3 separate regions of the Homo sapiens genome follow, and regions 1 and 2 are each linked to region 3. The links are contacts of gene promoters, found by promoter capture Hi-C in blood cells and fetal thymus (Javierre and others, 2016). All regions are on one chromosome and are shown on one strand. The core of a region is centred on a gene start or on the middle of the fragment in contact, and the rest is flanking DNA. Distances in the headings are between cores, read along the strand shown. Region 1 holds the start of GTF3C1 (general transcription factor IIIC subunit 1). Region 2 holds the start of LOC105371093 (a long non-coding RNA gene). Region 3 holds the start of VPS35L (VPS35 endosomal protein sorting factor like).

Region 1 (3,340 bases), core at 228-2,727, 8.0 Mb before region 3:
TAGTACCTCTAAAGTACAAAGGGAAAAGATATATTTTAAGCATATGACAGAATGTTCAATTAAAAACATTTTCTCCACACTACATTCAGTGAATATAAAAAGAATGTGGATTCCCCAGGAACAAATTCCCGAGAAGTGAGGGACAGTGCTGTAATTAGAAAAATGATCTGGACTCTAGCCCAGACCCTACCAGTCTCTCTAGACTTTAGTCTTCCCATCTGCAAAGTGAGATATCAGAATAGCCTATTTTCCATTTGCTTCCAATTGTCAATACCATGACTCTAATCAGGGATCCCTAAATGGGGGCCCACAAGCTGTCTCTGGCCTTCAGAGTGACTGGCCAACCCTGTTTTTGAGAAGTACCCCAAGAGGACAATCAGCTGGTGCTTGGTGAGCAGCTTTCCTTTCAGGTGAGGAATTGATTTTCAGTTACAGCCTCAATCCGGCTCACTAGACTCTCCTCTGCAGACATCTGCATTTACAACCTCTGGAATAAAGGGACCCTCAAAACCGGTCCAAATCTCAAGCTCCATAATTCAGCTCCAGAGACAGGGTGTCTGGGTTTCTCACTCACTCTGCTACATGCTGGTTGTTTGACTTTGGGCAAGTTCCTTAACACCTCTGAGCCTCAGTTTCATCATCTGTAAAATGGAACAACGCTGAACTCAAAAGGCTGGTATGAAGCTTAGCGAGGTGTTGCCCAAGAGTACTTACAGAGTTCTTGGTACTGGAAAGCACTTTGTTAAAGGGAGCTATTATTATTAACGCCAAGGCACAGAAAGGGAGTATTTCCTAAACTCCCTTCACCCCCCACACCAATTCCCTTTCCCAGCACCTGACGATTGCACTCCCACGATCAAGCTTGTTTTCATATCAACTCCCAAATCCGACAGTTCCACATCCCAACATTCACAAGACCCTCCTCAGACCTCTACTTCTCCTTCCCCACCCTACATCCCTTCACTGAGCTCCCGGCCAGTACCGGTTTCCTTCACGACCACAGCCGAGCAGAATGGTCACAGCACTGACCACTCCCCCAGGCTCTCCTCCGCGTTCCAGACCACTAAGCCTCCCTATCCCTCATTTCGGAGACCCCCTTGGGTCAGGAAGTGGTGGTCCAGGGGTTCATGGCCTAGGATTCTGCCCAAAGCGCGGTCGGGAGGGATGGGAGAATAACAGCCCGACCTCCCGGAGGGGCCCACAGACACTCACCGTCCATCCCTAGAGGCGGCGGTTCCGGGAGCTCGAACCGGAAGCGGCCTCTACACTGTTTGCAGTTCCCCTGGTTACTGCGGGGCCCCGGACCAATGACGGTGGAGCTCCACTTACTGAGCCCGCCCCCGGGGAGTGACGTCATGCCGGCGCGCTGGAACTCCTCCTCCGAACCCTGGGTCTGACCCACCTCCCCGGGCCCCGGATCGTTGTGCGCAGGCGCGATGGACCAAGGCCCTTGGCGGTGCGTTGCGCATGCGCCCCGGGCGCCGCCGACTGAAGTAGCAATGGACGCGCTGGAGTCGTTGTTGGACGAAGTCGCTCTGGAGGGGCTCGATGGCCTGTGTCTGCCAGCGCTGTGGAGCCGGCTGGAGACGCGAGTGCCGCCCTTCCCGCTGCCTTTGGAACCCTGCACGCAGGAGTTTCTCTGGCGGGCCCTCGCCACGCACCCGGGCATCAGCTTCTATGAGGAGCCTCGGGAGCGACCCGACCTACAGCTCCAGGACCGGTCAGCGGGCGGCCTGGCCTGGCGGGCGGGCGGGCGGGCGCAGGGCCCGGGGGCTGATGGAGCTGGGGGCAGGGCGGGGGAATGGAGTGGGGCTGTGCAAGTACCGGAGGCCTGTTGATTGAGTTGGGGCACGGCGGTAAGGCTAATCTGGGGTCCCTCAGGCCTGGCAGGGCCCTGGAGTCCGATGGAGTTGGCGGGGGGAGGGGGAGAATCTAGTGATGTCCCGTTTTGTCCCTGTGTGTGTTTTGGGGTAATGGCGAACAGGATTGGGGATATTCTTCAGGCTTAAAAGAATGTTTCCTTTACATTGGAGGATAGGATTAGAGCAGGAAAGACACTTTAGAGCCAGACTGGAGACTCCTGAGATCAACAGACCCTCATGGTATATTCATTCGGTGCAGATAGCCTAGGGCAACTCGAGATCTGCGTATCAGGACAATTAGCGATAATGCTAAAAGCTGACATTTATCAGGGACTTCATGGGTGAGGTGCTGTTCTTTTTTTTCTTTTTTGAGATAGAGTCTCTCTCTGTGGCCCAGGCTGGAGTGCAGTGGCGCGATCTTGGCTCACTGCAACCTCCGTCCGCCTCCCAGGTTCAAGCGATTCTCGTGCCTCAGCCTCCTGAGTAACTGGGATTACAGGCATGTTCCACCACGCCCGGCTAATTTTTGCATTTTTAGTAGGTATGGGGTGTCATCATGTTGGCCAGGCTGGTCGCGAACTCCTGACCTCAGACAATCCGCACCTCTCGGCCTCCCAAAGTGCTGTGATTACAGGCGTGAGCCACGGCGCCCGGCCACATTGCTGTTCTAAGAATCTATTCTAGAAGCTTTAGGAGCTTAAACTCACTTGATCCTCACTTGATTAAACTCCGTTAAACAGGAGATTAAATTCACTTGATCCTCACCTATGAGGTAGGTGCTGTTATCGTCCTCATTTTACAGAGGAAGACACTGAGTCACAGAGAGGGATTATGTAACCTAAGGTTCTGGGGGCAATAAGTGACTAAGAATTGATTTGAACCCAGGCTATTTTCAGCGTCTGTGCTCTTAAGCCATATTGTGAGGGTCAGGGGAGGTTCCAAGAGGTAATAATGTCCAAGACAGGCCGGGTGCAGCAGCTCATGCCTGCAATCCCAGTACTTTGGGAGGCTGAGGTGGATGGGTCACAAGGTCGGCAGTTCAAGACCCGCCTGACCAACGTGGTGAAACCCTATCTCTACTAAAAATACAAAAATTAGCCTGGCGTGGTGGCGCATGCCTGTATCCCAGCTACTCAGGAGGCTGAGGCAGGAGAATCACTTGAACCTGGGAGACAGAGGTTTCAGTGAGCTGAGATTCAGCCATTGCACTCCAGCCTGGGTGACAGAGTGAGACTCTGTCTCAAAAATAAAATAAAATAATGTTCGAGACAAAACTTAAAGGTTGGATTTAGGCAGCCAGTTGGCAAAGAGGACTGTTGGACAGAGAACAGCAAATGTGAAGTAAGTGGCTGAAGTGTGGAATTGGAGGTAGGGAATGAGGAATAGCTAGGACTGTGCTAAGATCCTTAATACAACATGTTATTTAATTTTTACAGAAACCTTAGGAGATGGGTAATATTCTCCCCATTTTCCTGAAG
Region 2 (3,282 bases), core at 518-3,017, 5.6 Mb after region 3:
GCTGTCTTGGATGGATGTGATGGACCAGCAGAAAAGCAACCATCAAATTGCTCTCGACTTAAATAAAACCACAAACTTGGTGAATACATATTTATAGCTGGATGTGTTTGTTATAAAACTGACTAGGTTCTATCAAACAAAATTACAATGAATTTTACATTATATTACATCAAAGTGCAACTAAGTTACAGTAGATCTCACAAACAAAGATGACAAATAATGTCATCATTATTTGTCACATAATGTTCTTTACCTTGGCCACAGATACAGTTTCCTCACAAAAAGATTTCTCATCACTCTTTCCACATGACAAAAACCAGTATCAAAGGCAACAGCATTGTCTGTGAAAGCTTTAATAAAACCACGTTTGTTTTTCTGGCGAAAGAGGCGCAAGATGAATGCTTCTTGACAAGACTCGATTATTCTGTGGGCTCTATACACCAAGATGCCTGAGGGGGAGAAACATAATTTAAACTACAGAACAGGTAGGTAATTGCCATTCATTCATCACATTTTTCTTAAGTACTTACAAGAGAATGAATAAGCACCATTCTAGACTGGGCATATAGCCACGCACAGAACAGAGATAAATCCCTGTCCTCAAGGAATTGACTATAAACAATATAAATACGTAAAATATTTAGGATGCTACAAGTGCTGAGAAGAAAAAATGAATCAGAGAAGGAGGAGAGGGAGTATGTATGAGGGGTGGTCTCACCAAGGTGGTATCTGAATAAAGGCTGGATGGAGCCTTGTGACCATCTGGGCCAAGAGAGTTCCAGGCTGCCAGGCTGAGGGGACAGTGAGGGCACAGGCCCTGGGGTGGGGTGTTTCTGGCATGTCAGAGGAAGAATTTCTGAAAGCAAAGTAGGTCATGAATTTTTTTTTTTTAATGTATGAATCAGATGTGGACTATACAAAATAGCCACATTTTAGAAGTCTGGGCAACATCTACATTACCTATGAGATGAATTCAATTTTCAGAATCAGAAGATAGTCAATTCAGAGGTAAATTAGTCCATTTAAAACAAAAACCTTCAATCGACATACTTATACATGTCTTTGGGGGTGTACATGATTATAACACCTCAGCATCTCAAAAATAAGAACAATTATACATGCTTTGTTATTTATGAAATGAGACTACTGACCCAGATCTTTCATATATATTGTGTCATCTGATGCAGTGTGATTAGTGCTAAGTTAGGGAGAAACATGAGATGACATAAAGGCATACAGACATGCTTTCTAGATCAAAACCACAATTACTCCAAGACGAGTCTGTCTTTTAGACCTAAATCAAGCTGGTTACCTTATATATATTTGGCATAATGGTACTTGCATGCTTTTGATCCAGTTCTCATATCTGGAAGGGTATGGACAATAATACTAACAGTGATTTATGACCCTTCTAATAGTTCAATAAACTAAACTCAGATTTTACTATTTTAATGTTTAAGTTTTGGATAGAGGTGGATGGAGCTAAATTTACTCTAGCTCAGCAAATTATCTTCCAAATATAGTAAAAATTAATAATGTTATTTAGGAATTCATAGACAAAGGATTTTCAATAACCCCCCCAATACACGTACATAACTAATTTACTACTCAGAAAATATTCTGTACCTAATTGGTGGGTTTTCCCAAGGACTCTAAGAGGCCACATTTTGTTAGCCTGGATTGAAATATTACGTAGAGTCAAGAATAATAAAAATGAACTTCCAAAGAAAAGGAGAAACTCAATTTAAGAAAATGTTGCGCTCCAAAAAGTTGTCTTTATTTTGGTTGGAACCCAGGAGGAAGAAGAGAACTGATACTACATCCCAGGTAACTGGGTTAGGTGTTTCTATAGATTTTCATTTCATTTAATTGTTATGATAATTCCATGCAGTAGGTATCATGATGAGACCAAGGAAGGGAAGCAACTTAACCAAGGTCATCCAGCAAGCAAGTGGGAGGCCGAAGGTTCCAAATCATGTGTAAAATCATGTTATTCCTATTTAGTCACACCAACTCAAGACACTCCTTTTTCAAAAAATAAAAATAATAGAAGCAGGTTAGGTTTTTGGGAGGAGTTTTAGCTCCACAAAAGCCTACTTTAGTTTTTTTTGTTCCTATGACATTTTGTACCCATACTGTACTATAACTACTTCTTTACTTGTCTCCTCCATTAAACTGCCCGAGAACAGGAACATCGTAACACCAACAGGCAGAGATCACAGAGATCATAGAATGCTGACTATGTGCCATGCTACCAAGTATTTTACATATAAGCATTTCATTTCACCCTGACAATCCTAGGAGGAAGGTACTATCTTTATCACCAATGTACGGGTGAGTAAGCTGAGGCATAGAGAAATTAAGAAACTTGCCTAAAAATACACAGCTGGTGCAAGATGAAGATAACTCAAACCCAGAAGCAGTCTAACTCACGAGTTCACCATACTGTCCCATTCATCTGTCTATCTTCAGCACCCTTCCTGCCAAACAAGGGACCCTTAGTGAGTTAAATATTTGTTGAATGAATATAAAGTGGAGGCACAGCACTGGGTACACAAATCAAAAGTGTAACTGAAAAATACATATATATTTCCCAGAAAGTGTGTTCTTAGTTCTGTCTGGAGATGTCAGGGTCAGTTTTGGCAATGAAAGCATCCTCCTGTCCTGTTCTTTTCAAGGTACAACCTCACCAGATATTTATATAGTTCTCCCACGTGTTAGGAGTTCTGGTTAGCAGGGATTCCCAGGGTGGGGTGTGGTGGTAATAATGGGTGGTGACAGGTGAAGAAGTTGGGGCTGGGGGATTCAGCCTTTCCAGAGGGTTACCTGCACTTCACGCACTGCTCTTTGGTCAGTCCTGGGGGATGATCCCAGGGGATGAAAGAATTCAAAAGAATTCATTTTTGGCATTCATTTACATTCCACTCAGCCAAGCATCAGTAACAGCTCCAGCTTCATTATTCGGTGGGCTTTGATCAGAAAGGAGGAGGGAATTTGGCATTTTTCATTAGGAGCTACAGATAAGCCAGACTTCAACGTTGCATAAATTCACATTGCTCTCTGCCTAATTAGGTTGCACTGTAACTGAAAGTCACAGGATATTACTGACACCTAGTGGTAGTTTTAAACACAACAAAAAAATTTTTTTAAATCAATTTAAAAAATAAAGTAAAACCAAGCTTATAAGAAAGCAGCAAACAGTAAAAGACTGGTGTATCAAGATTTCTGGTTACAAAAGGCCAATTTTATTTGGTATGAATTACTAAGAGTTTGTTGTGTACC
Region 3 (3,362 bases), core at 101-2,600:
TCAAGCGACTCTCCTGCCTCACCCTCCCAAGTAGCTGGGATTACAGGTGCGTGCCACCACTAATTTAGCCCAGCTAATTTTTGTATTTTTAGTAGAGATTAGGTTTCGCCATGTTGGCCAGGCTGGTCTCGAACCCCTGACCTCAGGTGATCCGCCAGCCTCGGCCTCCCAAAGTGCTGGGATTACAGGCGTGAGCCACCATACCCAGCCAGCATGACTATTAACTGAAAAAAAAAAAAAAACCTCAGGGTGTGGAAGTGCTCAGAGGCATTCAATGCTGATGTAGCGTGTCAAGGAAGCAGTCTCTTAAGTGTTGGGCAAATGAAAGGAATAAGACAAAATGAAGTGTTTATCAAGCTCAAAAGCAGAAGGTTGTACCTGATTATTTCTAAGGTCTTTCATTTGCTCATTTAATCTAAGCTACTTCACATCATTTGAAGAGAAAGTAAATTATCTCGCTTTCTGAGATGCAGGAGAGATTCCCCGTCCCCAAATCCCACTATCATCAACAACACAACTTCCTCAAGTTCTTCACTCACACACATACCACCTGCTGAACCCTGAAGCTTCAGTCACTCATTCCTAGCTACTCCAACCACAAGGGACCTACGGGCCTGCCAACCAGGCACACGCCACGCCCTCCCTATGGTGGACTCCTATTCATCCTCCAAGACCCAATTTAACTCCTCCTCTCTGAAGCCTTCCCCTAGCCCCCTGGTGGGGATAATCACTCCCTTCTTGGTGCCTCATCCGAATGCCTTCTTTAGACATCCCTCTACTGTGCGTCTGCCCCATTATACTGTCAGCTCCTTGAGGCCAAGGAATAAGTCTGAGGGCTGTGCCTAGGATAGGATGAATGGCGGCCATTTTACAGATGAGAAAAGCAAGTCTCCAGGTGAACAGAGGAGCTGAGGAAACTGACCAACAGCCAGATCTCCCGACTCGTCCAGACTTTAAAAGCTGAGTCCACCATTACCCTCATCCAGCGACCCCAGAACCCGCGCCAACTTCTGGGGACGCGGAAGCCTGGAAACTCAAGTTTTCTTTAGGGAATGAATGGACAGGGGCCCGTGGAAGGCGCAGAGAGGCAGCAGACGGGGAGAGAACCAAGAACCCGCCAGTCTGGCTTCAGATTGCTCCGCTGGACCGCGGTAGCGGCCAGGGATTCTACGGTCAAGACAACTTGGGGGTGGCCGGTCGACCACCAGAACCCGACAGAGAGGAATTCACACTCTCAGACCCAGGCCGACCCCATCACAAGTAAGGACAGCCCCTCTCCAAAGCCCACCCGCCGCTGCTTCCTTACCAAGGAAAGACGGCCATCTTCCCAGTCACATGACCGCTTGTTCTGGGGCCGTCTGCTCGGCTTCCCATCCTTACCCCGCCACTCCCCGCACCCCTCGGCCGCCATGTTTGTGAAGGGCAGCTGGCCGCCCCGCAGCGGCCGCACAGCACCTTCTGCAGACGCCATGCTTGTGAGGGGCAGGCGACGCTCCGCACAGCACAGGCTTCATTTTCAGCTGACGCCATGCTTGTGAGGGGCAGCTCCCCGCTCCGGACAGCCCGGGTTACAACTCCCGCCGGCGCCATGCTTCGGAGGAGCAACGTCGGCCACGGCCAGAGTGCCGTAGTTTCTATGAGTCATGATTGTAAAGGGCAGCTGTCTACAGTGCCGGGTGGTCCCGCCTGCGGGCGTCATGATGGTAAAGGGCATGACTGCTGCTTAGCTCACCTGCGTCCTCTAGGGGCAGAAAGGACTCCAGAAGGCGGCGGAGCGAAGACGCAAACTGAGGTTCAGCCAGTACCTGGTTTTGCGGCTAATACGCTGTTTGGCGTGGGACAGCCATGCCCCCTCTAGGCCGCTGCTTTACCCACTGCTTTGCGGGCGGTTTTAGACACTTGCAGAATGCCCTTCCCACGACTAGCAACCGAGGGCTGCCCTAGATCTAATATGATTGACTACAGCTAATGCACGTGGGGAAATTAGGGTTCGCATTTCGTCCAACTTGGCAAAGCAGTGTTTCTAGGAAGGTGGATATCCATTTCGACCACAGAACGTTTTTAAAAATTATTTTAGGCCGGGAGCGGTGGCTCAGGCCTATGATCCCAGAACTTCGGGAGGCCGAGGTGGGTGGTTCACCTGATGTCAGGAGTTCGGGACCAGCCTGGCCAACATGGTGAAACCCCGTCTCTACTAAAAAATACAAAAACTAGTTGGGTATGGTGGCGGGCGCCTGTAATCCCAGCTACTCGGGAGGCTGAGGCAGGAGAATTGCTCCAACCCGGGAGGATGAGGTTGCAGTGAGCCGAGATTGCGCCATTGCACTCCAGCCTGGGCTACAAGAGCGAAACTCCATCTCAAAAAAAAATTTTTTTTTTAATTATTACTTTTATAACTTACTTAGATATCCATTATGGTCCCTTAGAGAGAAAGCATTCGATGTTTTTATAACTCTTACTTTTCATTCGGGGGTGGTGGTCTGTGGTTGTTCATGAGATGGTGACCTATGACAGGGAAAAGGATCATCTCCAGAACGGGCCCTCCAGTGTTCAGCTCAGTATGAGTAGGAAAGTATATCCACTCGTACCTGCTATTCCCAACACTGGAAGTGAACAAGGGTTAAAGGGTGGCCACGGGAAAGCAAGGAGCTCTTCCCATACAGCCATGCATGTTATCACATGCAACATCTCAATAAGAGGTCAAGGTGAGGAGCCTTTTCCTAGGCTCACACTGCATGATTAGGCAGTAACAAGAGGAGGATTCTTAAAGTTGTGCAAATTAACAGCTTTGATGTGAGCTTCAACCTTCGCATTCTCTTTTCTCCCTCTCCTTCCCTTAGCAGGCTTCTATCTCTTAATAAGTTAAGACATTTCCAGCCTGAGTTTTACCTTCTGAAAAGTCCAACTTTTAGTAGAGACGGGGTTTCACTATGTTGGCCAGGCTGGTCTCAAACTCCTGACCTCAGGTGATCCTCCCGCCTTGGCCTCCCAAAGTGTTGGGATTACAGGCGTGAGCCACTGCACCTGGCCCAGGGGACATATTAAATAATGAGATATATCTTTCATGGAACTTGTAAAGAATGATTATATACAATATTTGTTTTGGCCTAATACTTTTCAATATCTGTTTCTTTTTTCTTTTTTGTTTTGGAGACAAAGTCTCATTCAGGCTGGAGTGCAGTGGTGCGATTATAGCTCACTGCCACCTGTAACTCCTGGGTTCAAGTGATCCTCCTGCCTCAGCCTCCAGCGTACCTAGGACTACAGATGTGAACCACCATGCCTGGCTAATATCGGTTTCTTTTTTGTTTTGTTTTGAGATGGAGTCTTGCTCTGTCACCCAGGCTGCAGTGCAGTGGCAC

What was found. Contacts are between HindIII fragments. The CHiCAGO score rates a contact against its expected background, and 5 or more counts as called.
Region 1: the fragment with the promoter of GTF3C1 here is called in contact with the fragment with the promoter of VPS35L in region 3 in 1 of 17 cell types (fetal thymus); the score reaches 5.6 in fetal thymus.
Region 2: a contact is called between a fragment that was not itself captured here and the fragment with the promoter of VPS35L in region 3, in 3 of 17 cell types (total CD8 T cells, fetal thymus and naive CD8 T cells). The highest score is 9.3, in total CD8 T cells.

What each region holds. Positions count from the first base shown.
Region 1 is chr16:27,548,050-27,551,389 of GRCh38, reverse strand. It overlaps GTF3C1 (general transcription factor IIIC subunit 1), which reads left to right and starts at 1,477. Exons shown (of 37, transcript NM_001520.4): 1 at 1,477-1,720. The coding sequence starts at 1,500. It overlaps KATNIP (katanin interacting protein), which reads right to left and starts at 1,246. Exons shown (of 28, transcript NM_015202.5): 1 at 1,213-1,246. The coding sequence starts at 1,219. RefSeq lists enhancers at 1,381-1,490, 1,501-1,580. The HindIII fragment of the contact is 1,688 bases long and covers 864-2,551 here.
Region 2 is chr16:13,923,728-13,927,009 of GRCh38, reverse strand. ERCC4 (ERCC excision repair 4, endonuclease catalytic subunit) reads right to left here. Exons shown (of 11, transcript NM_005236.3): 3 at 254-449. LOC105371093 (a long non-coding RNA gene) reads left to right here and starts at 404. Exons shown (of 4, transcript XR_007065000.1): 1 at 404-485. The HindIII fragment of the contact is 2,829 bases long and covers 353-3,181 here.
Region 3 is chr16:19,553,691-19,557,052 of GRCh38, reverse strand. It overlaps VPS35L (VPS35 endosomal protein sorting factor like), which reads right to left and starts at 1,350. Exons shown (of 31, transcript NM_020314.7): 1 at 1,307-1,350. The coding sequence starts at 1,323. RefSeq lists enhancers at 666-895, 754-1,716, 1,276-1,755. The HindIII fragment of the contact is 7,423 bases long and covers 569-3,362 here.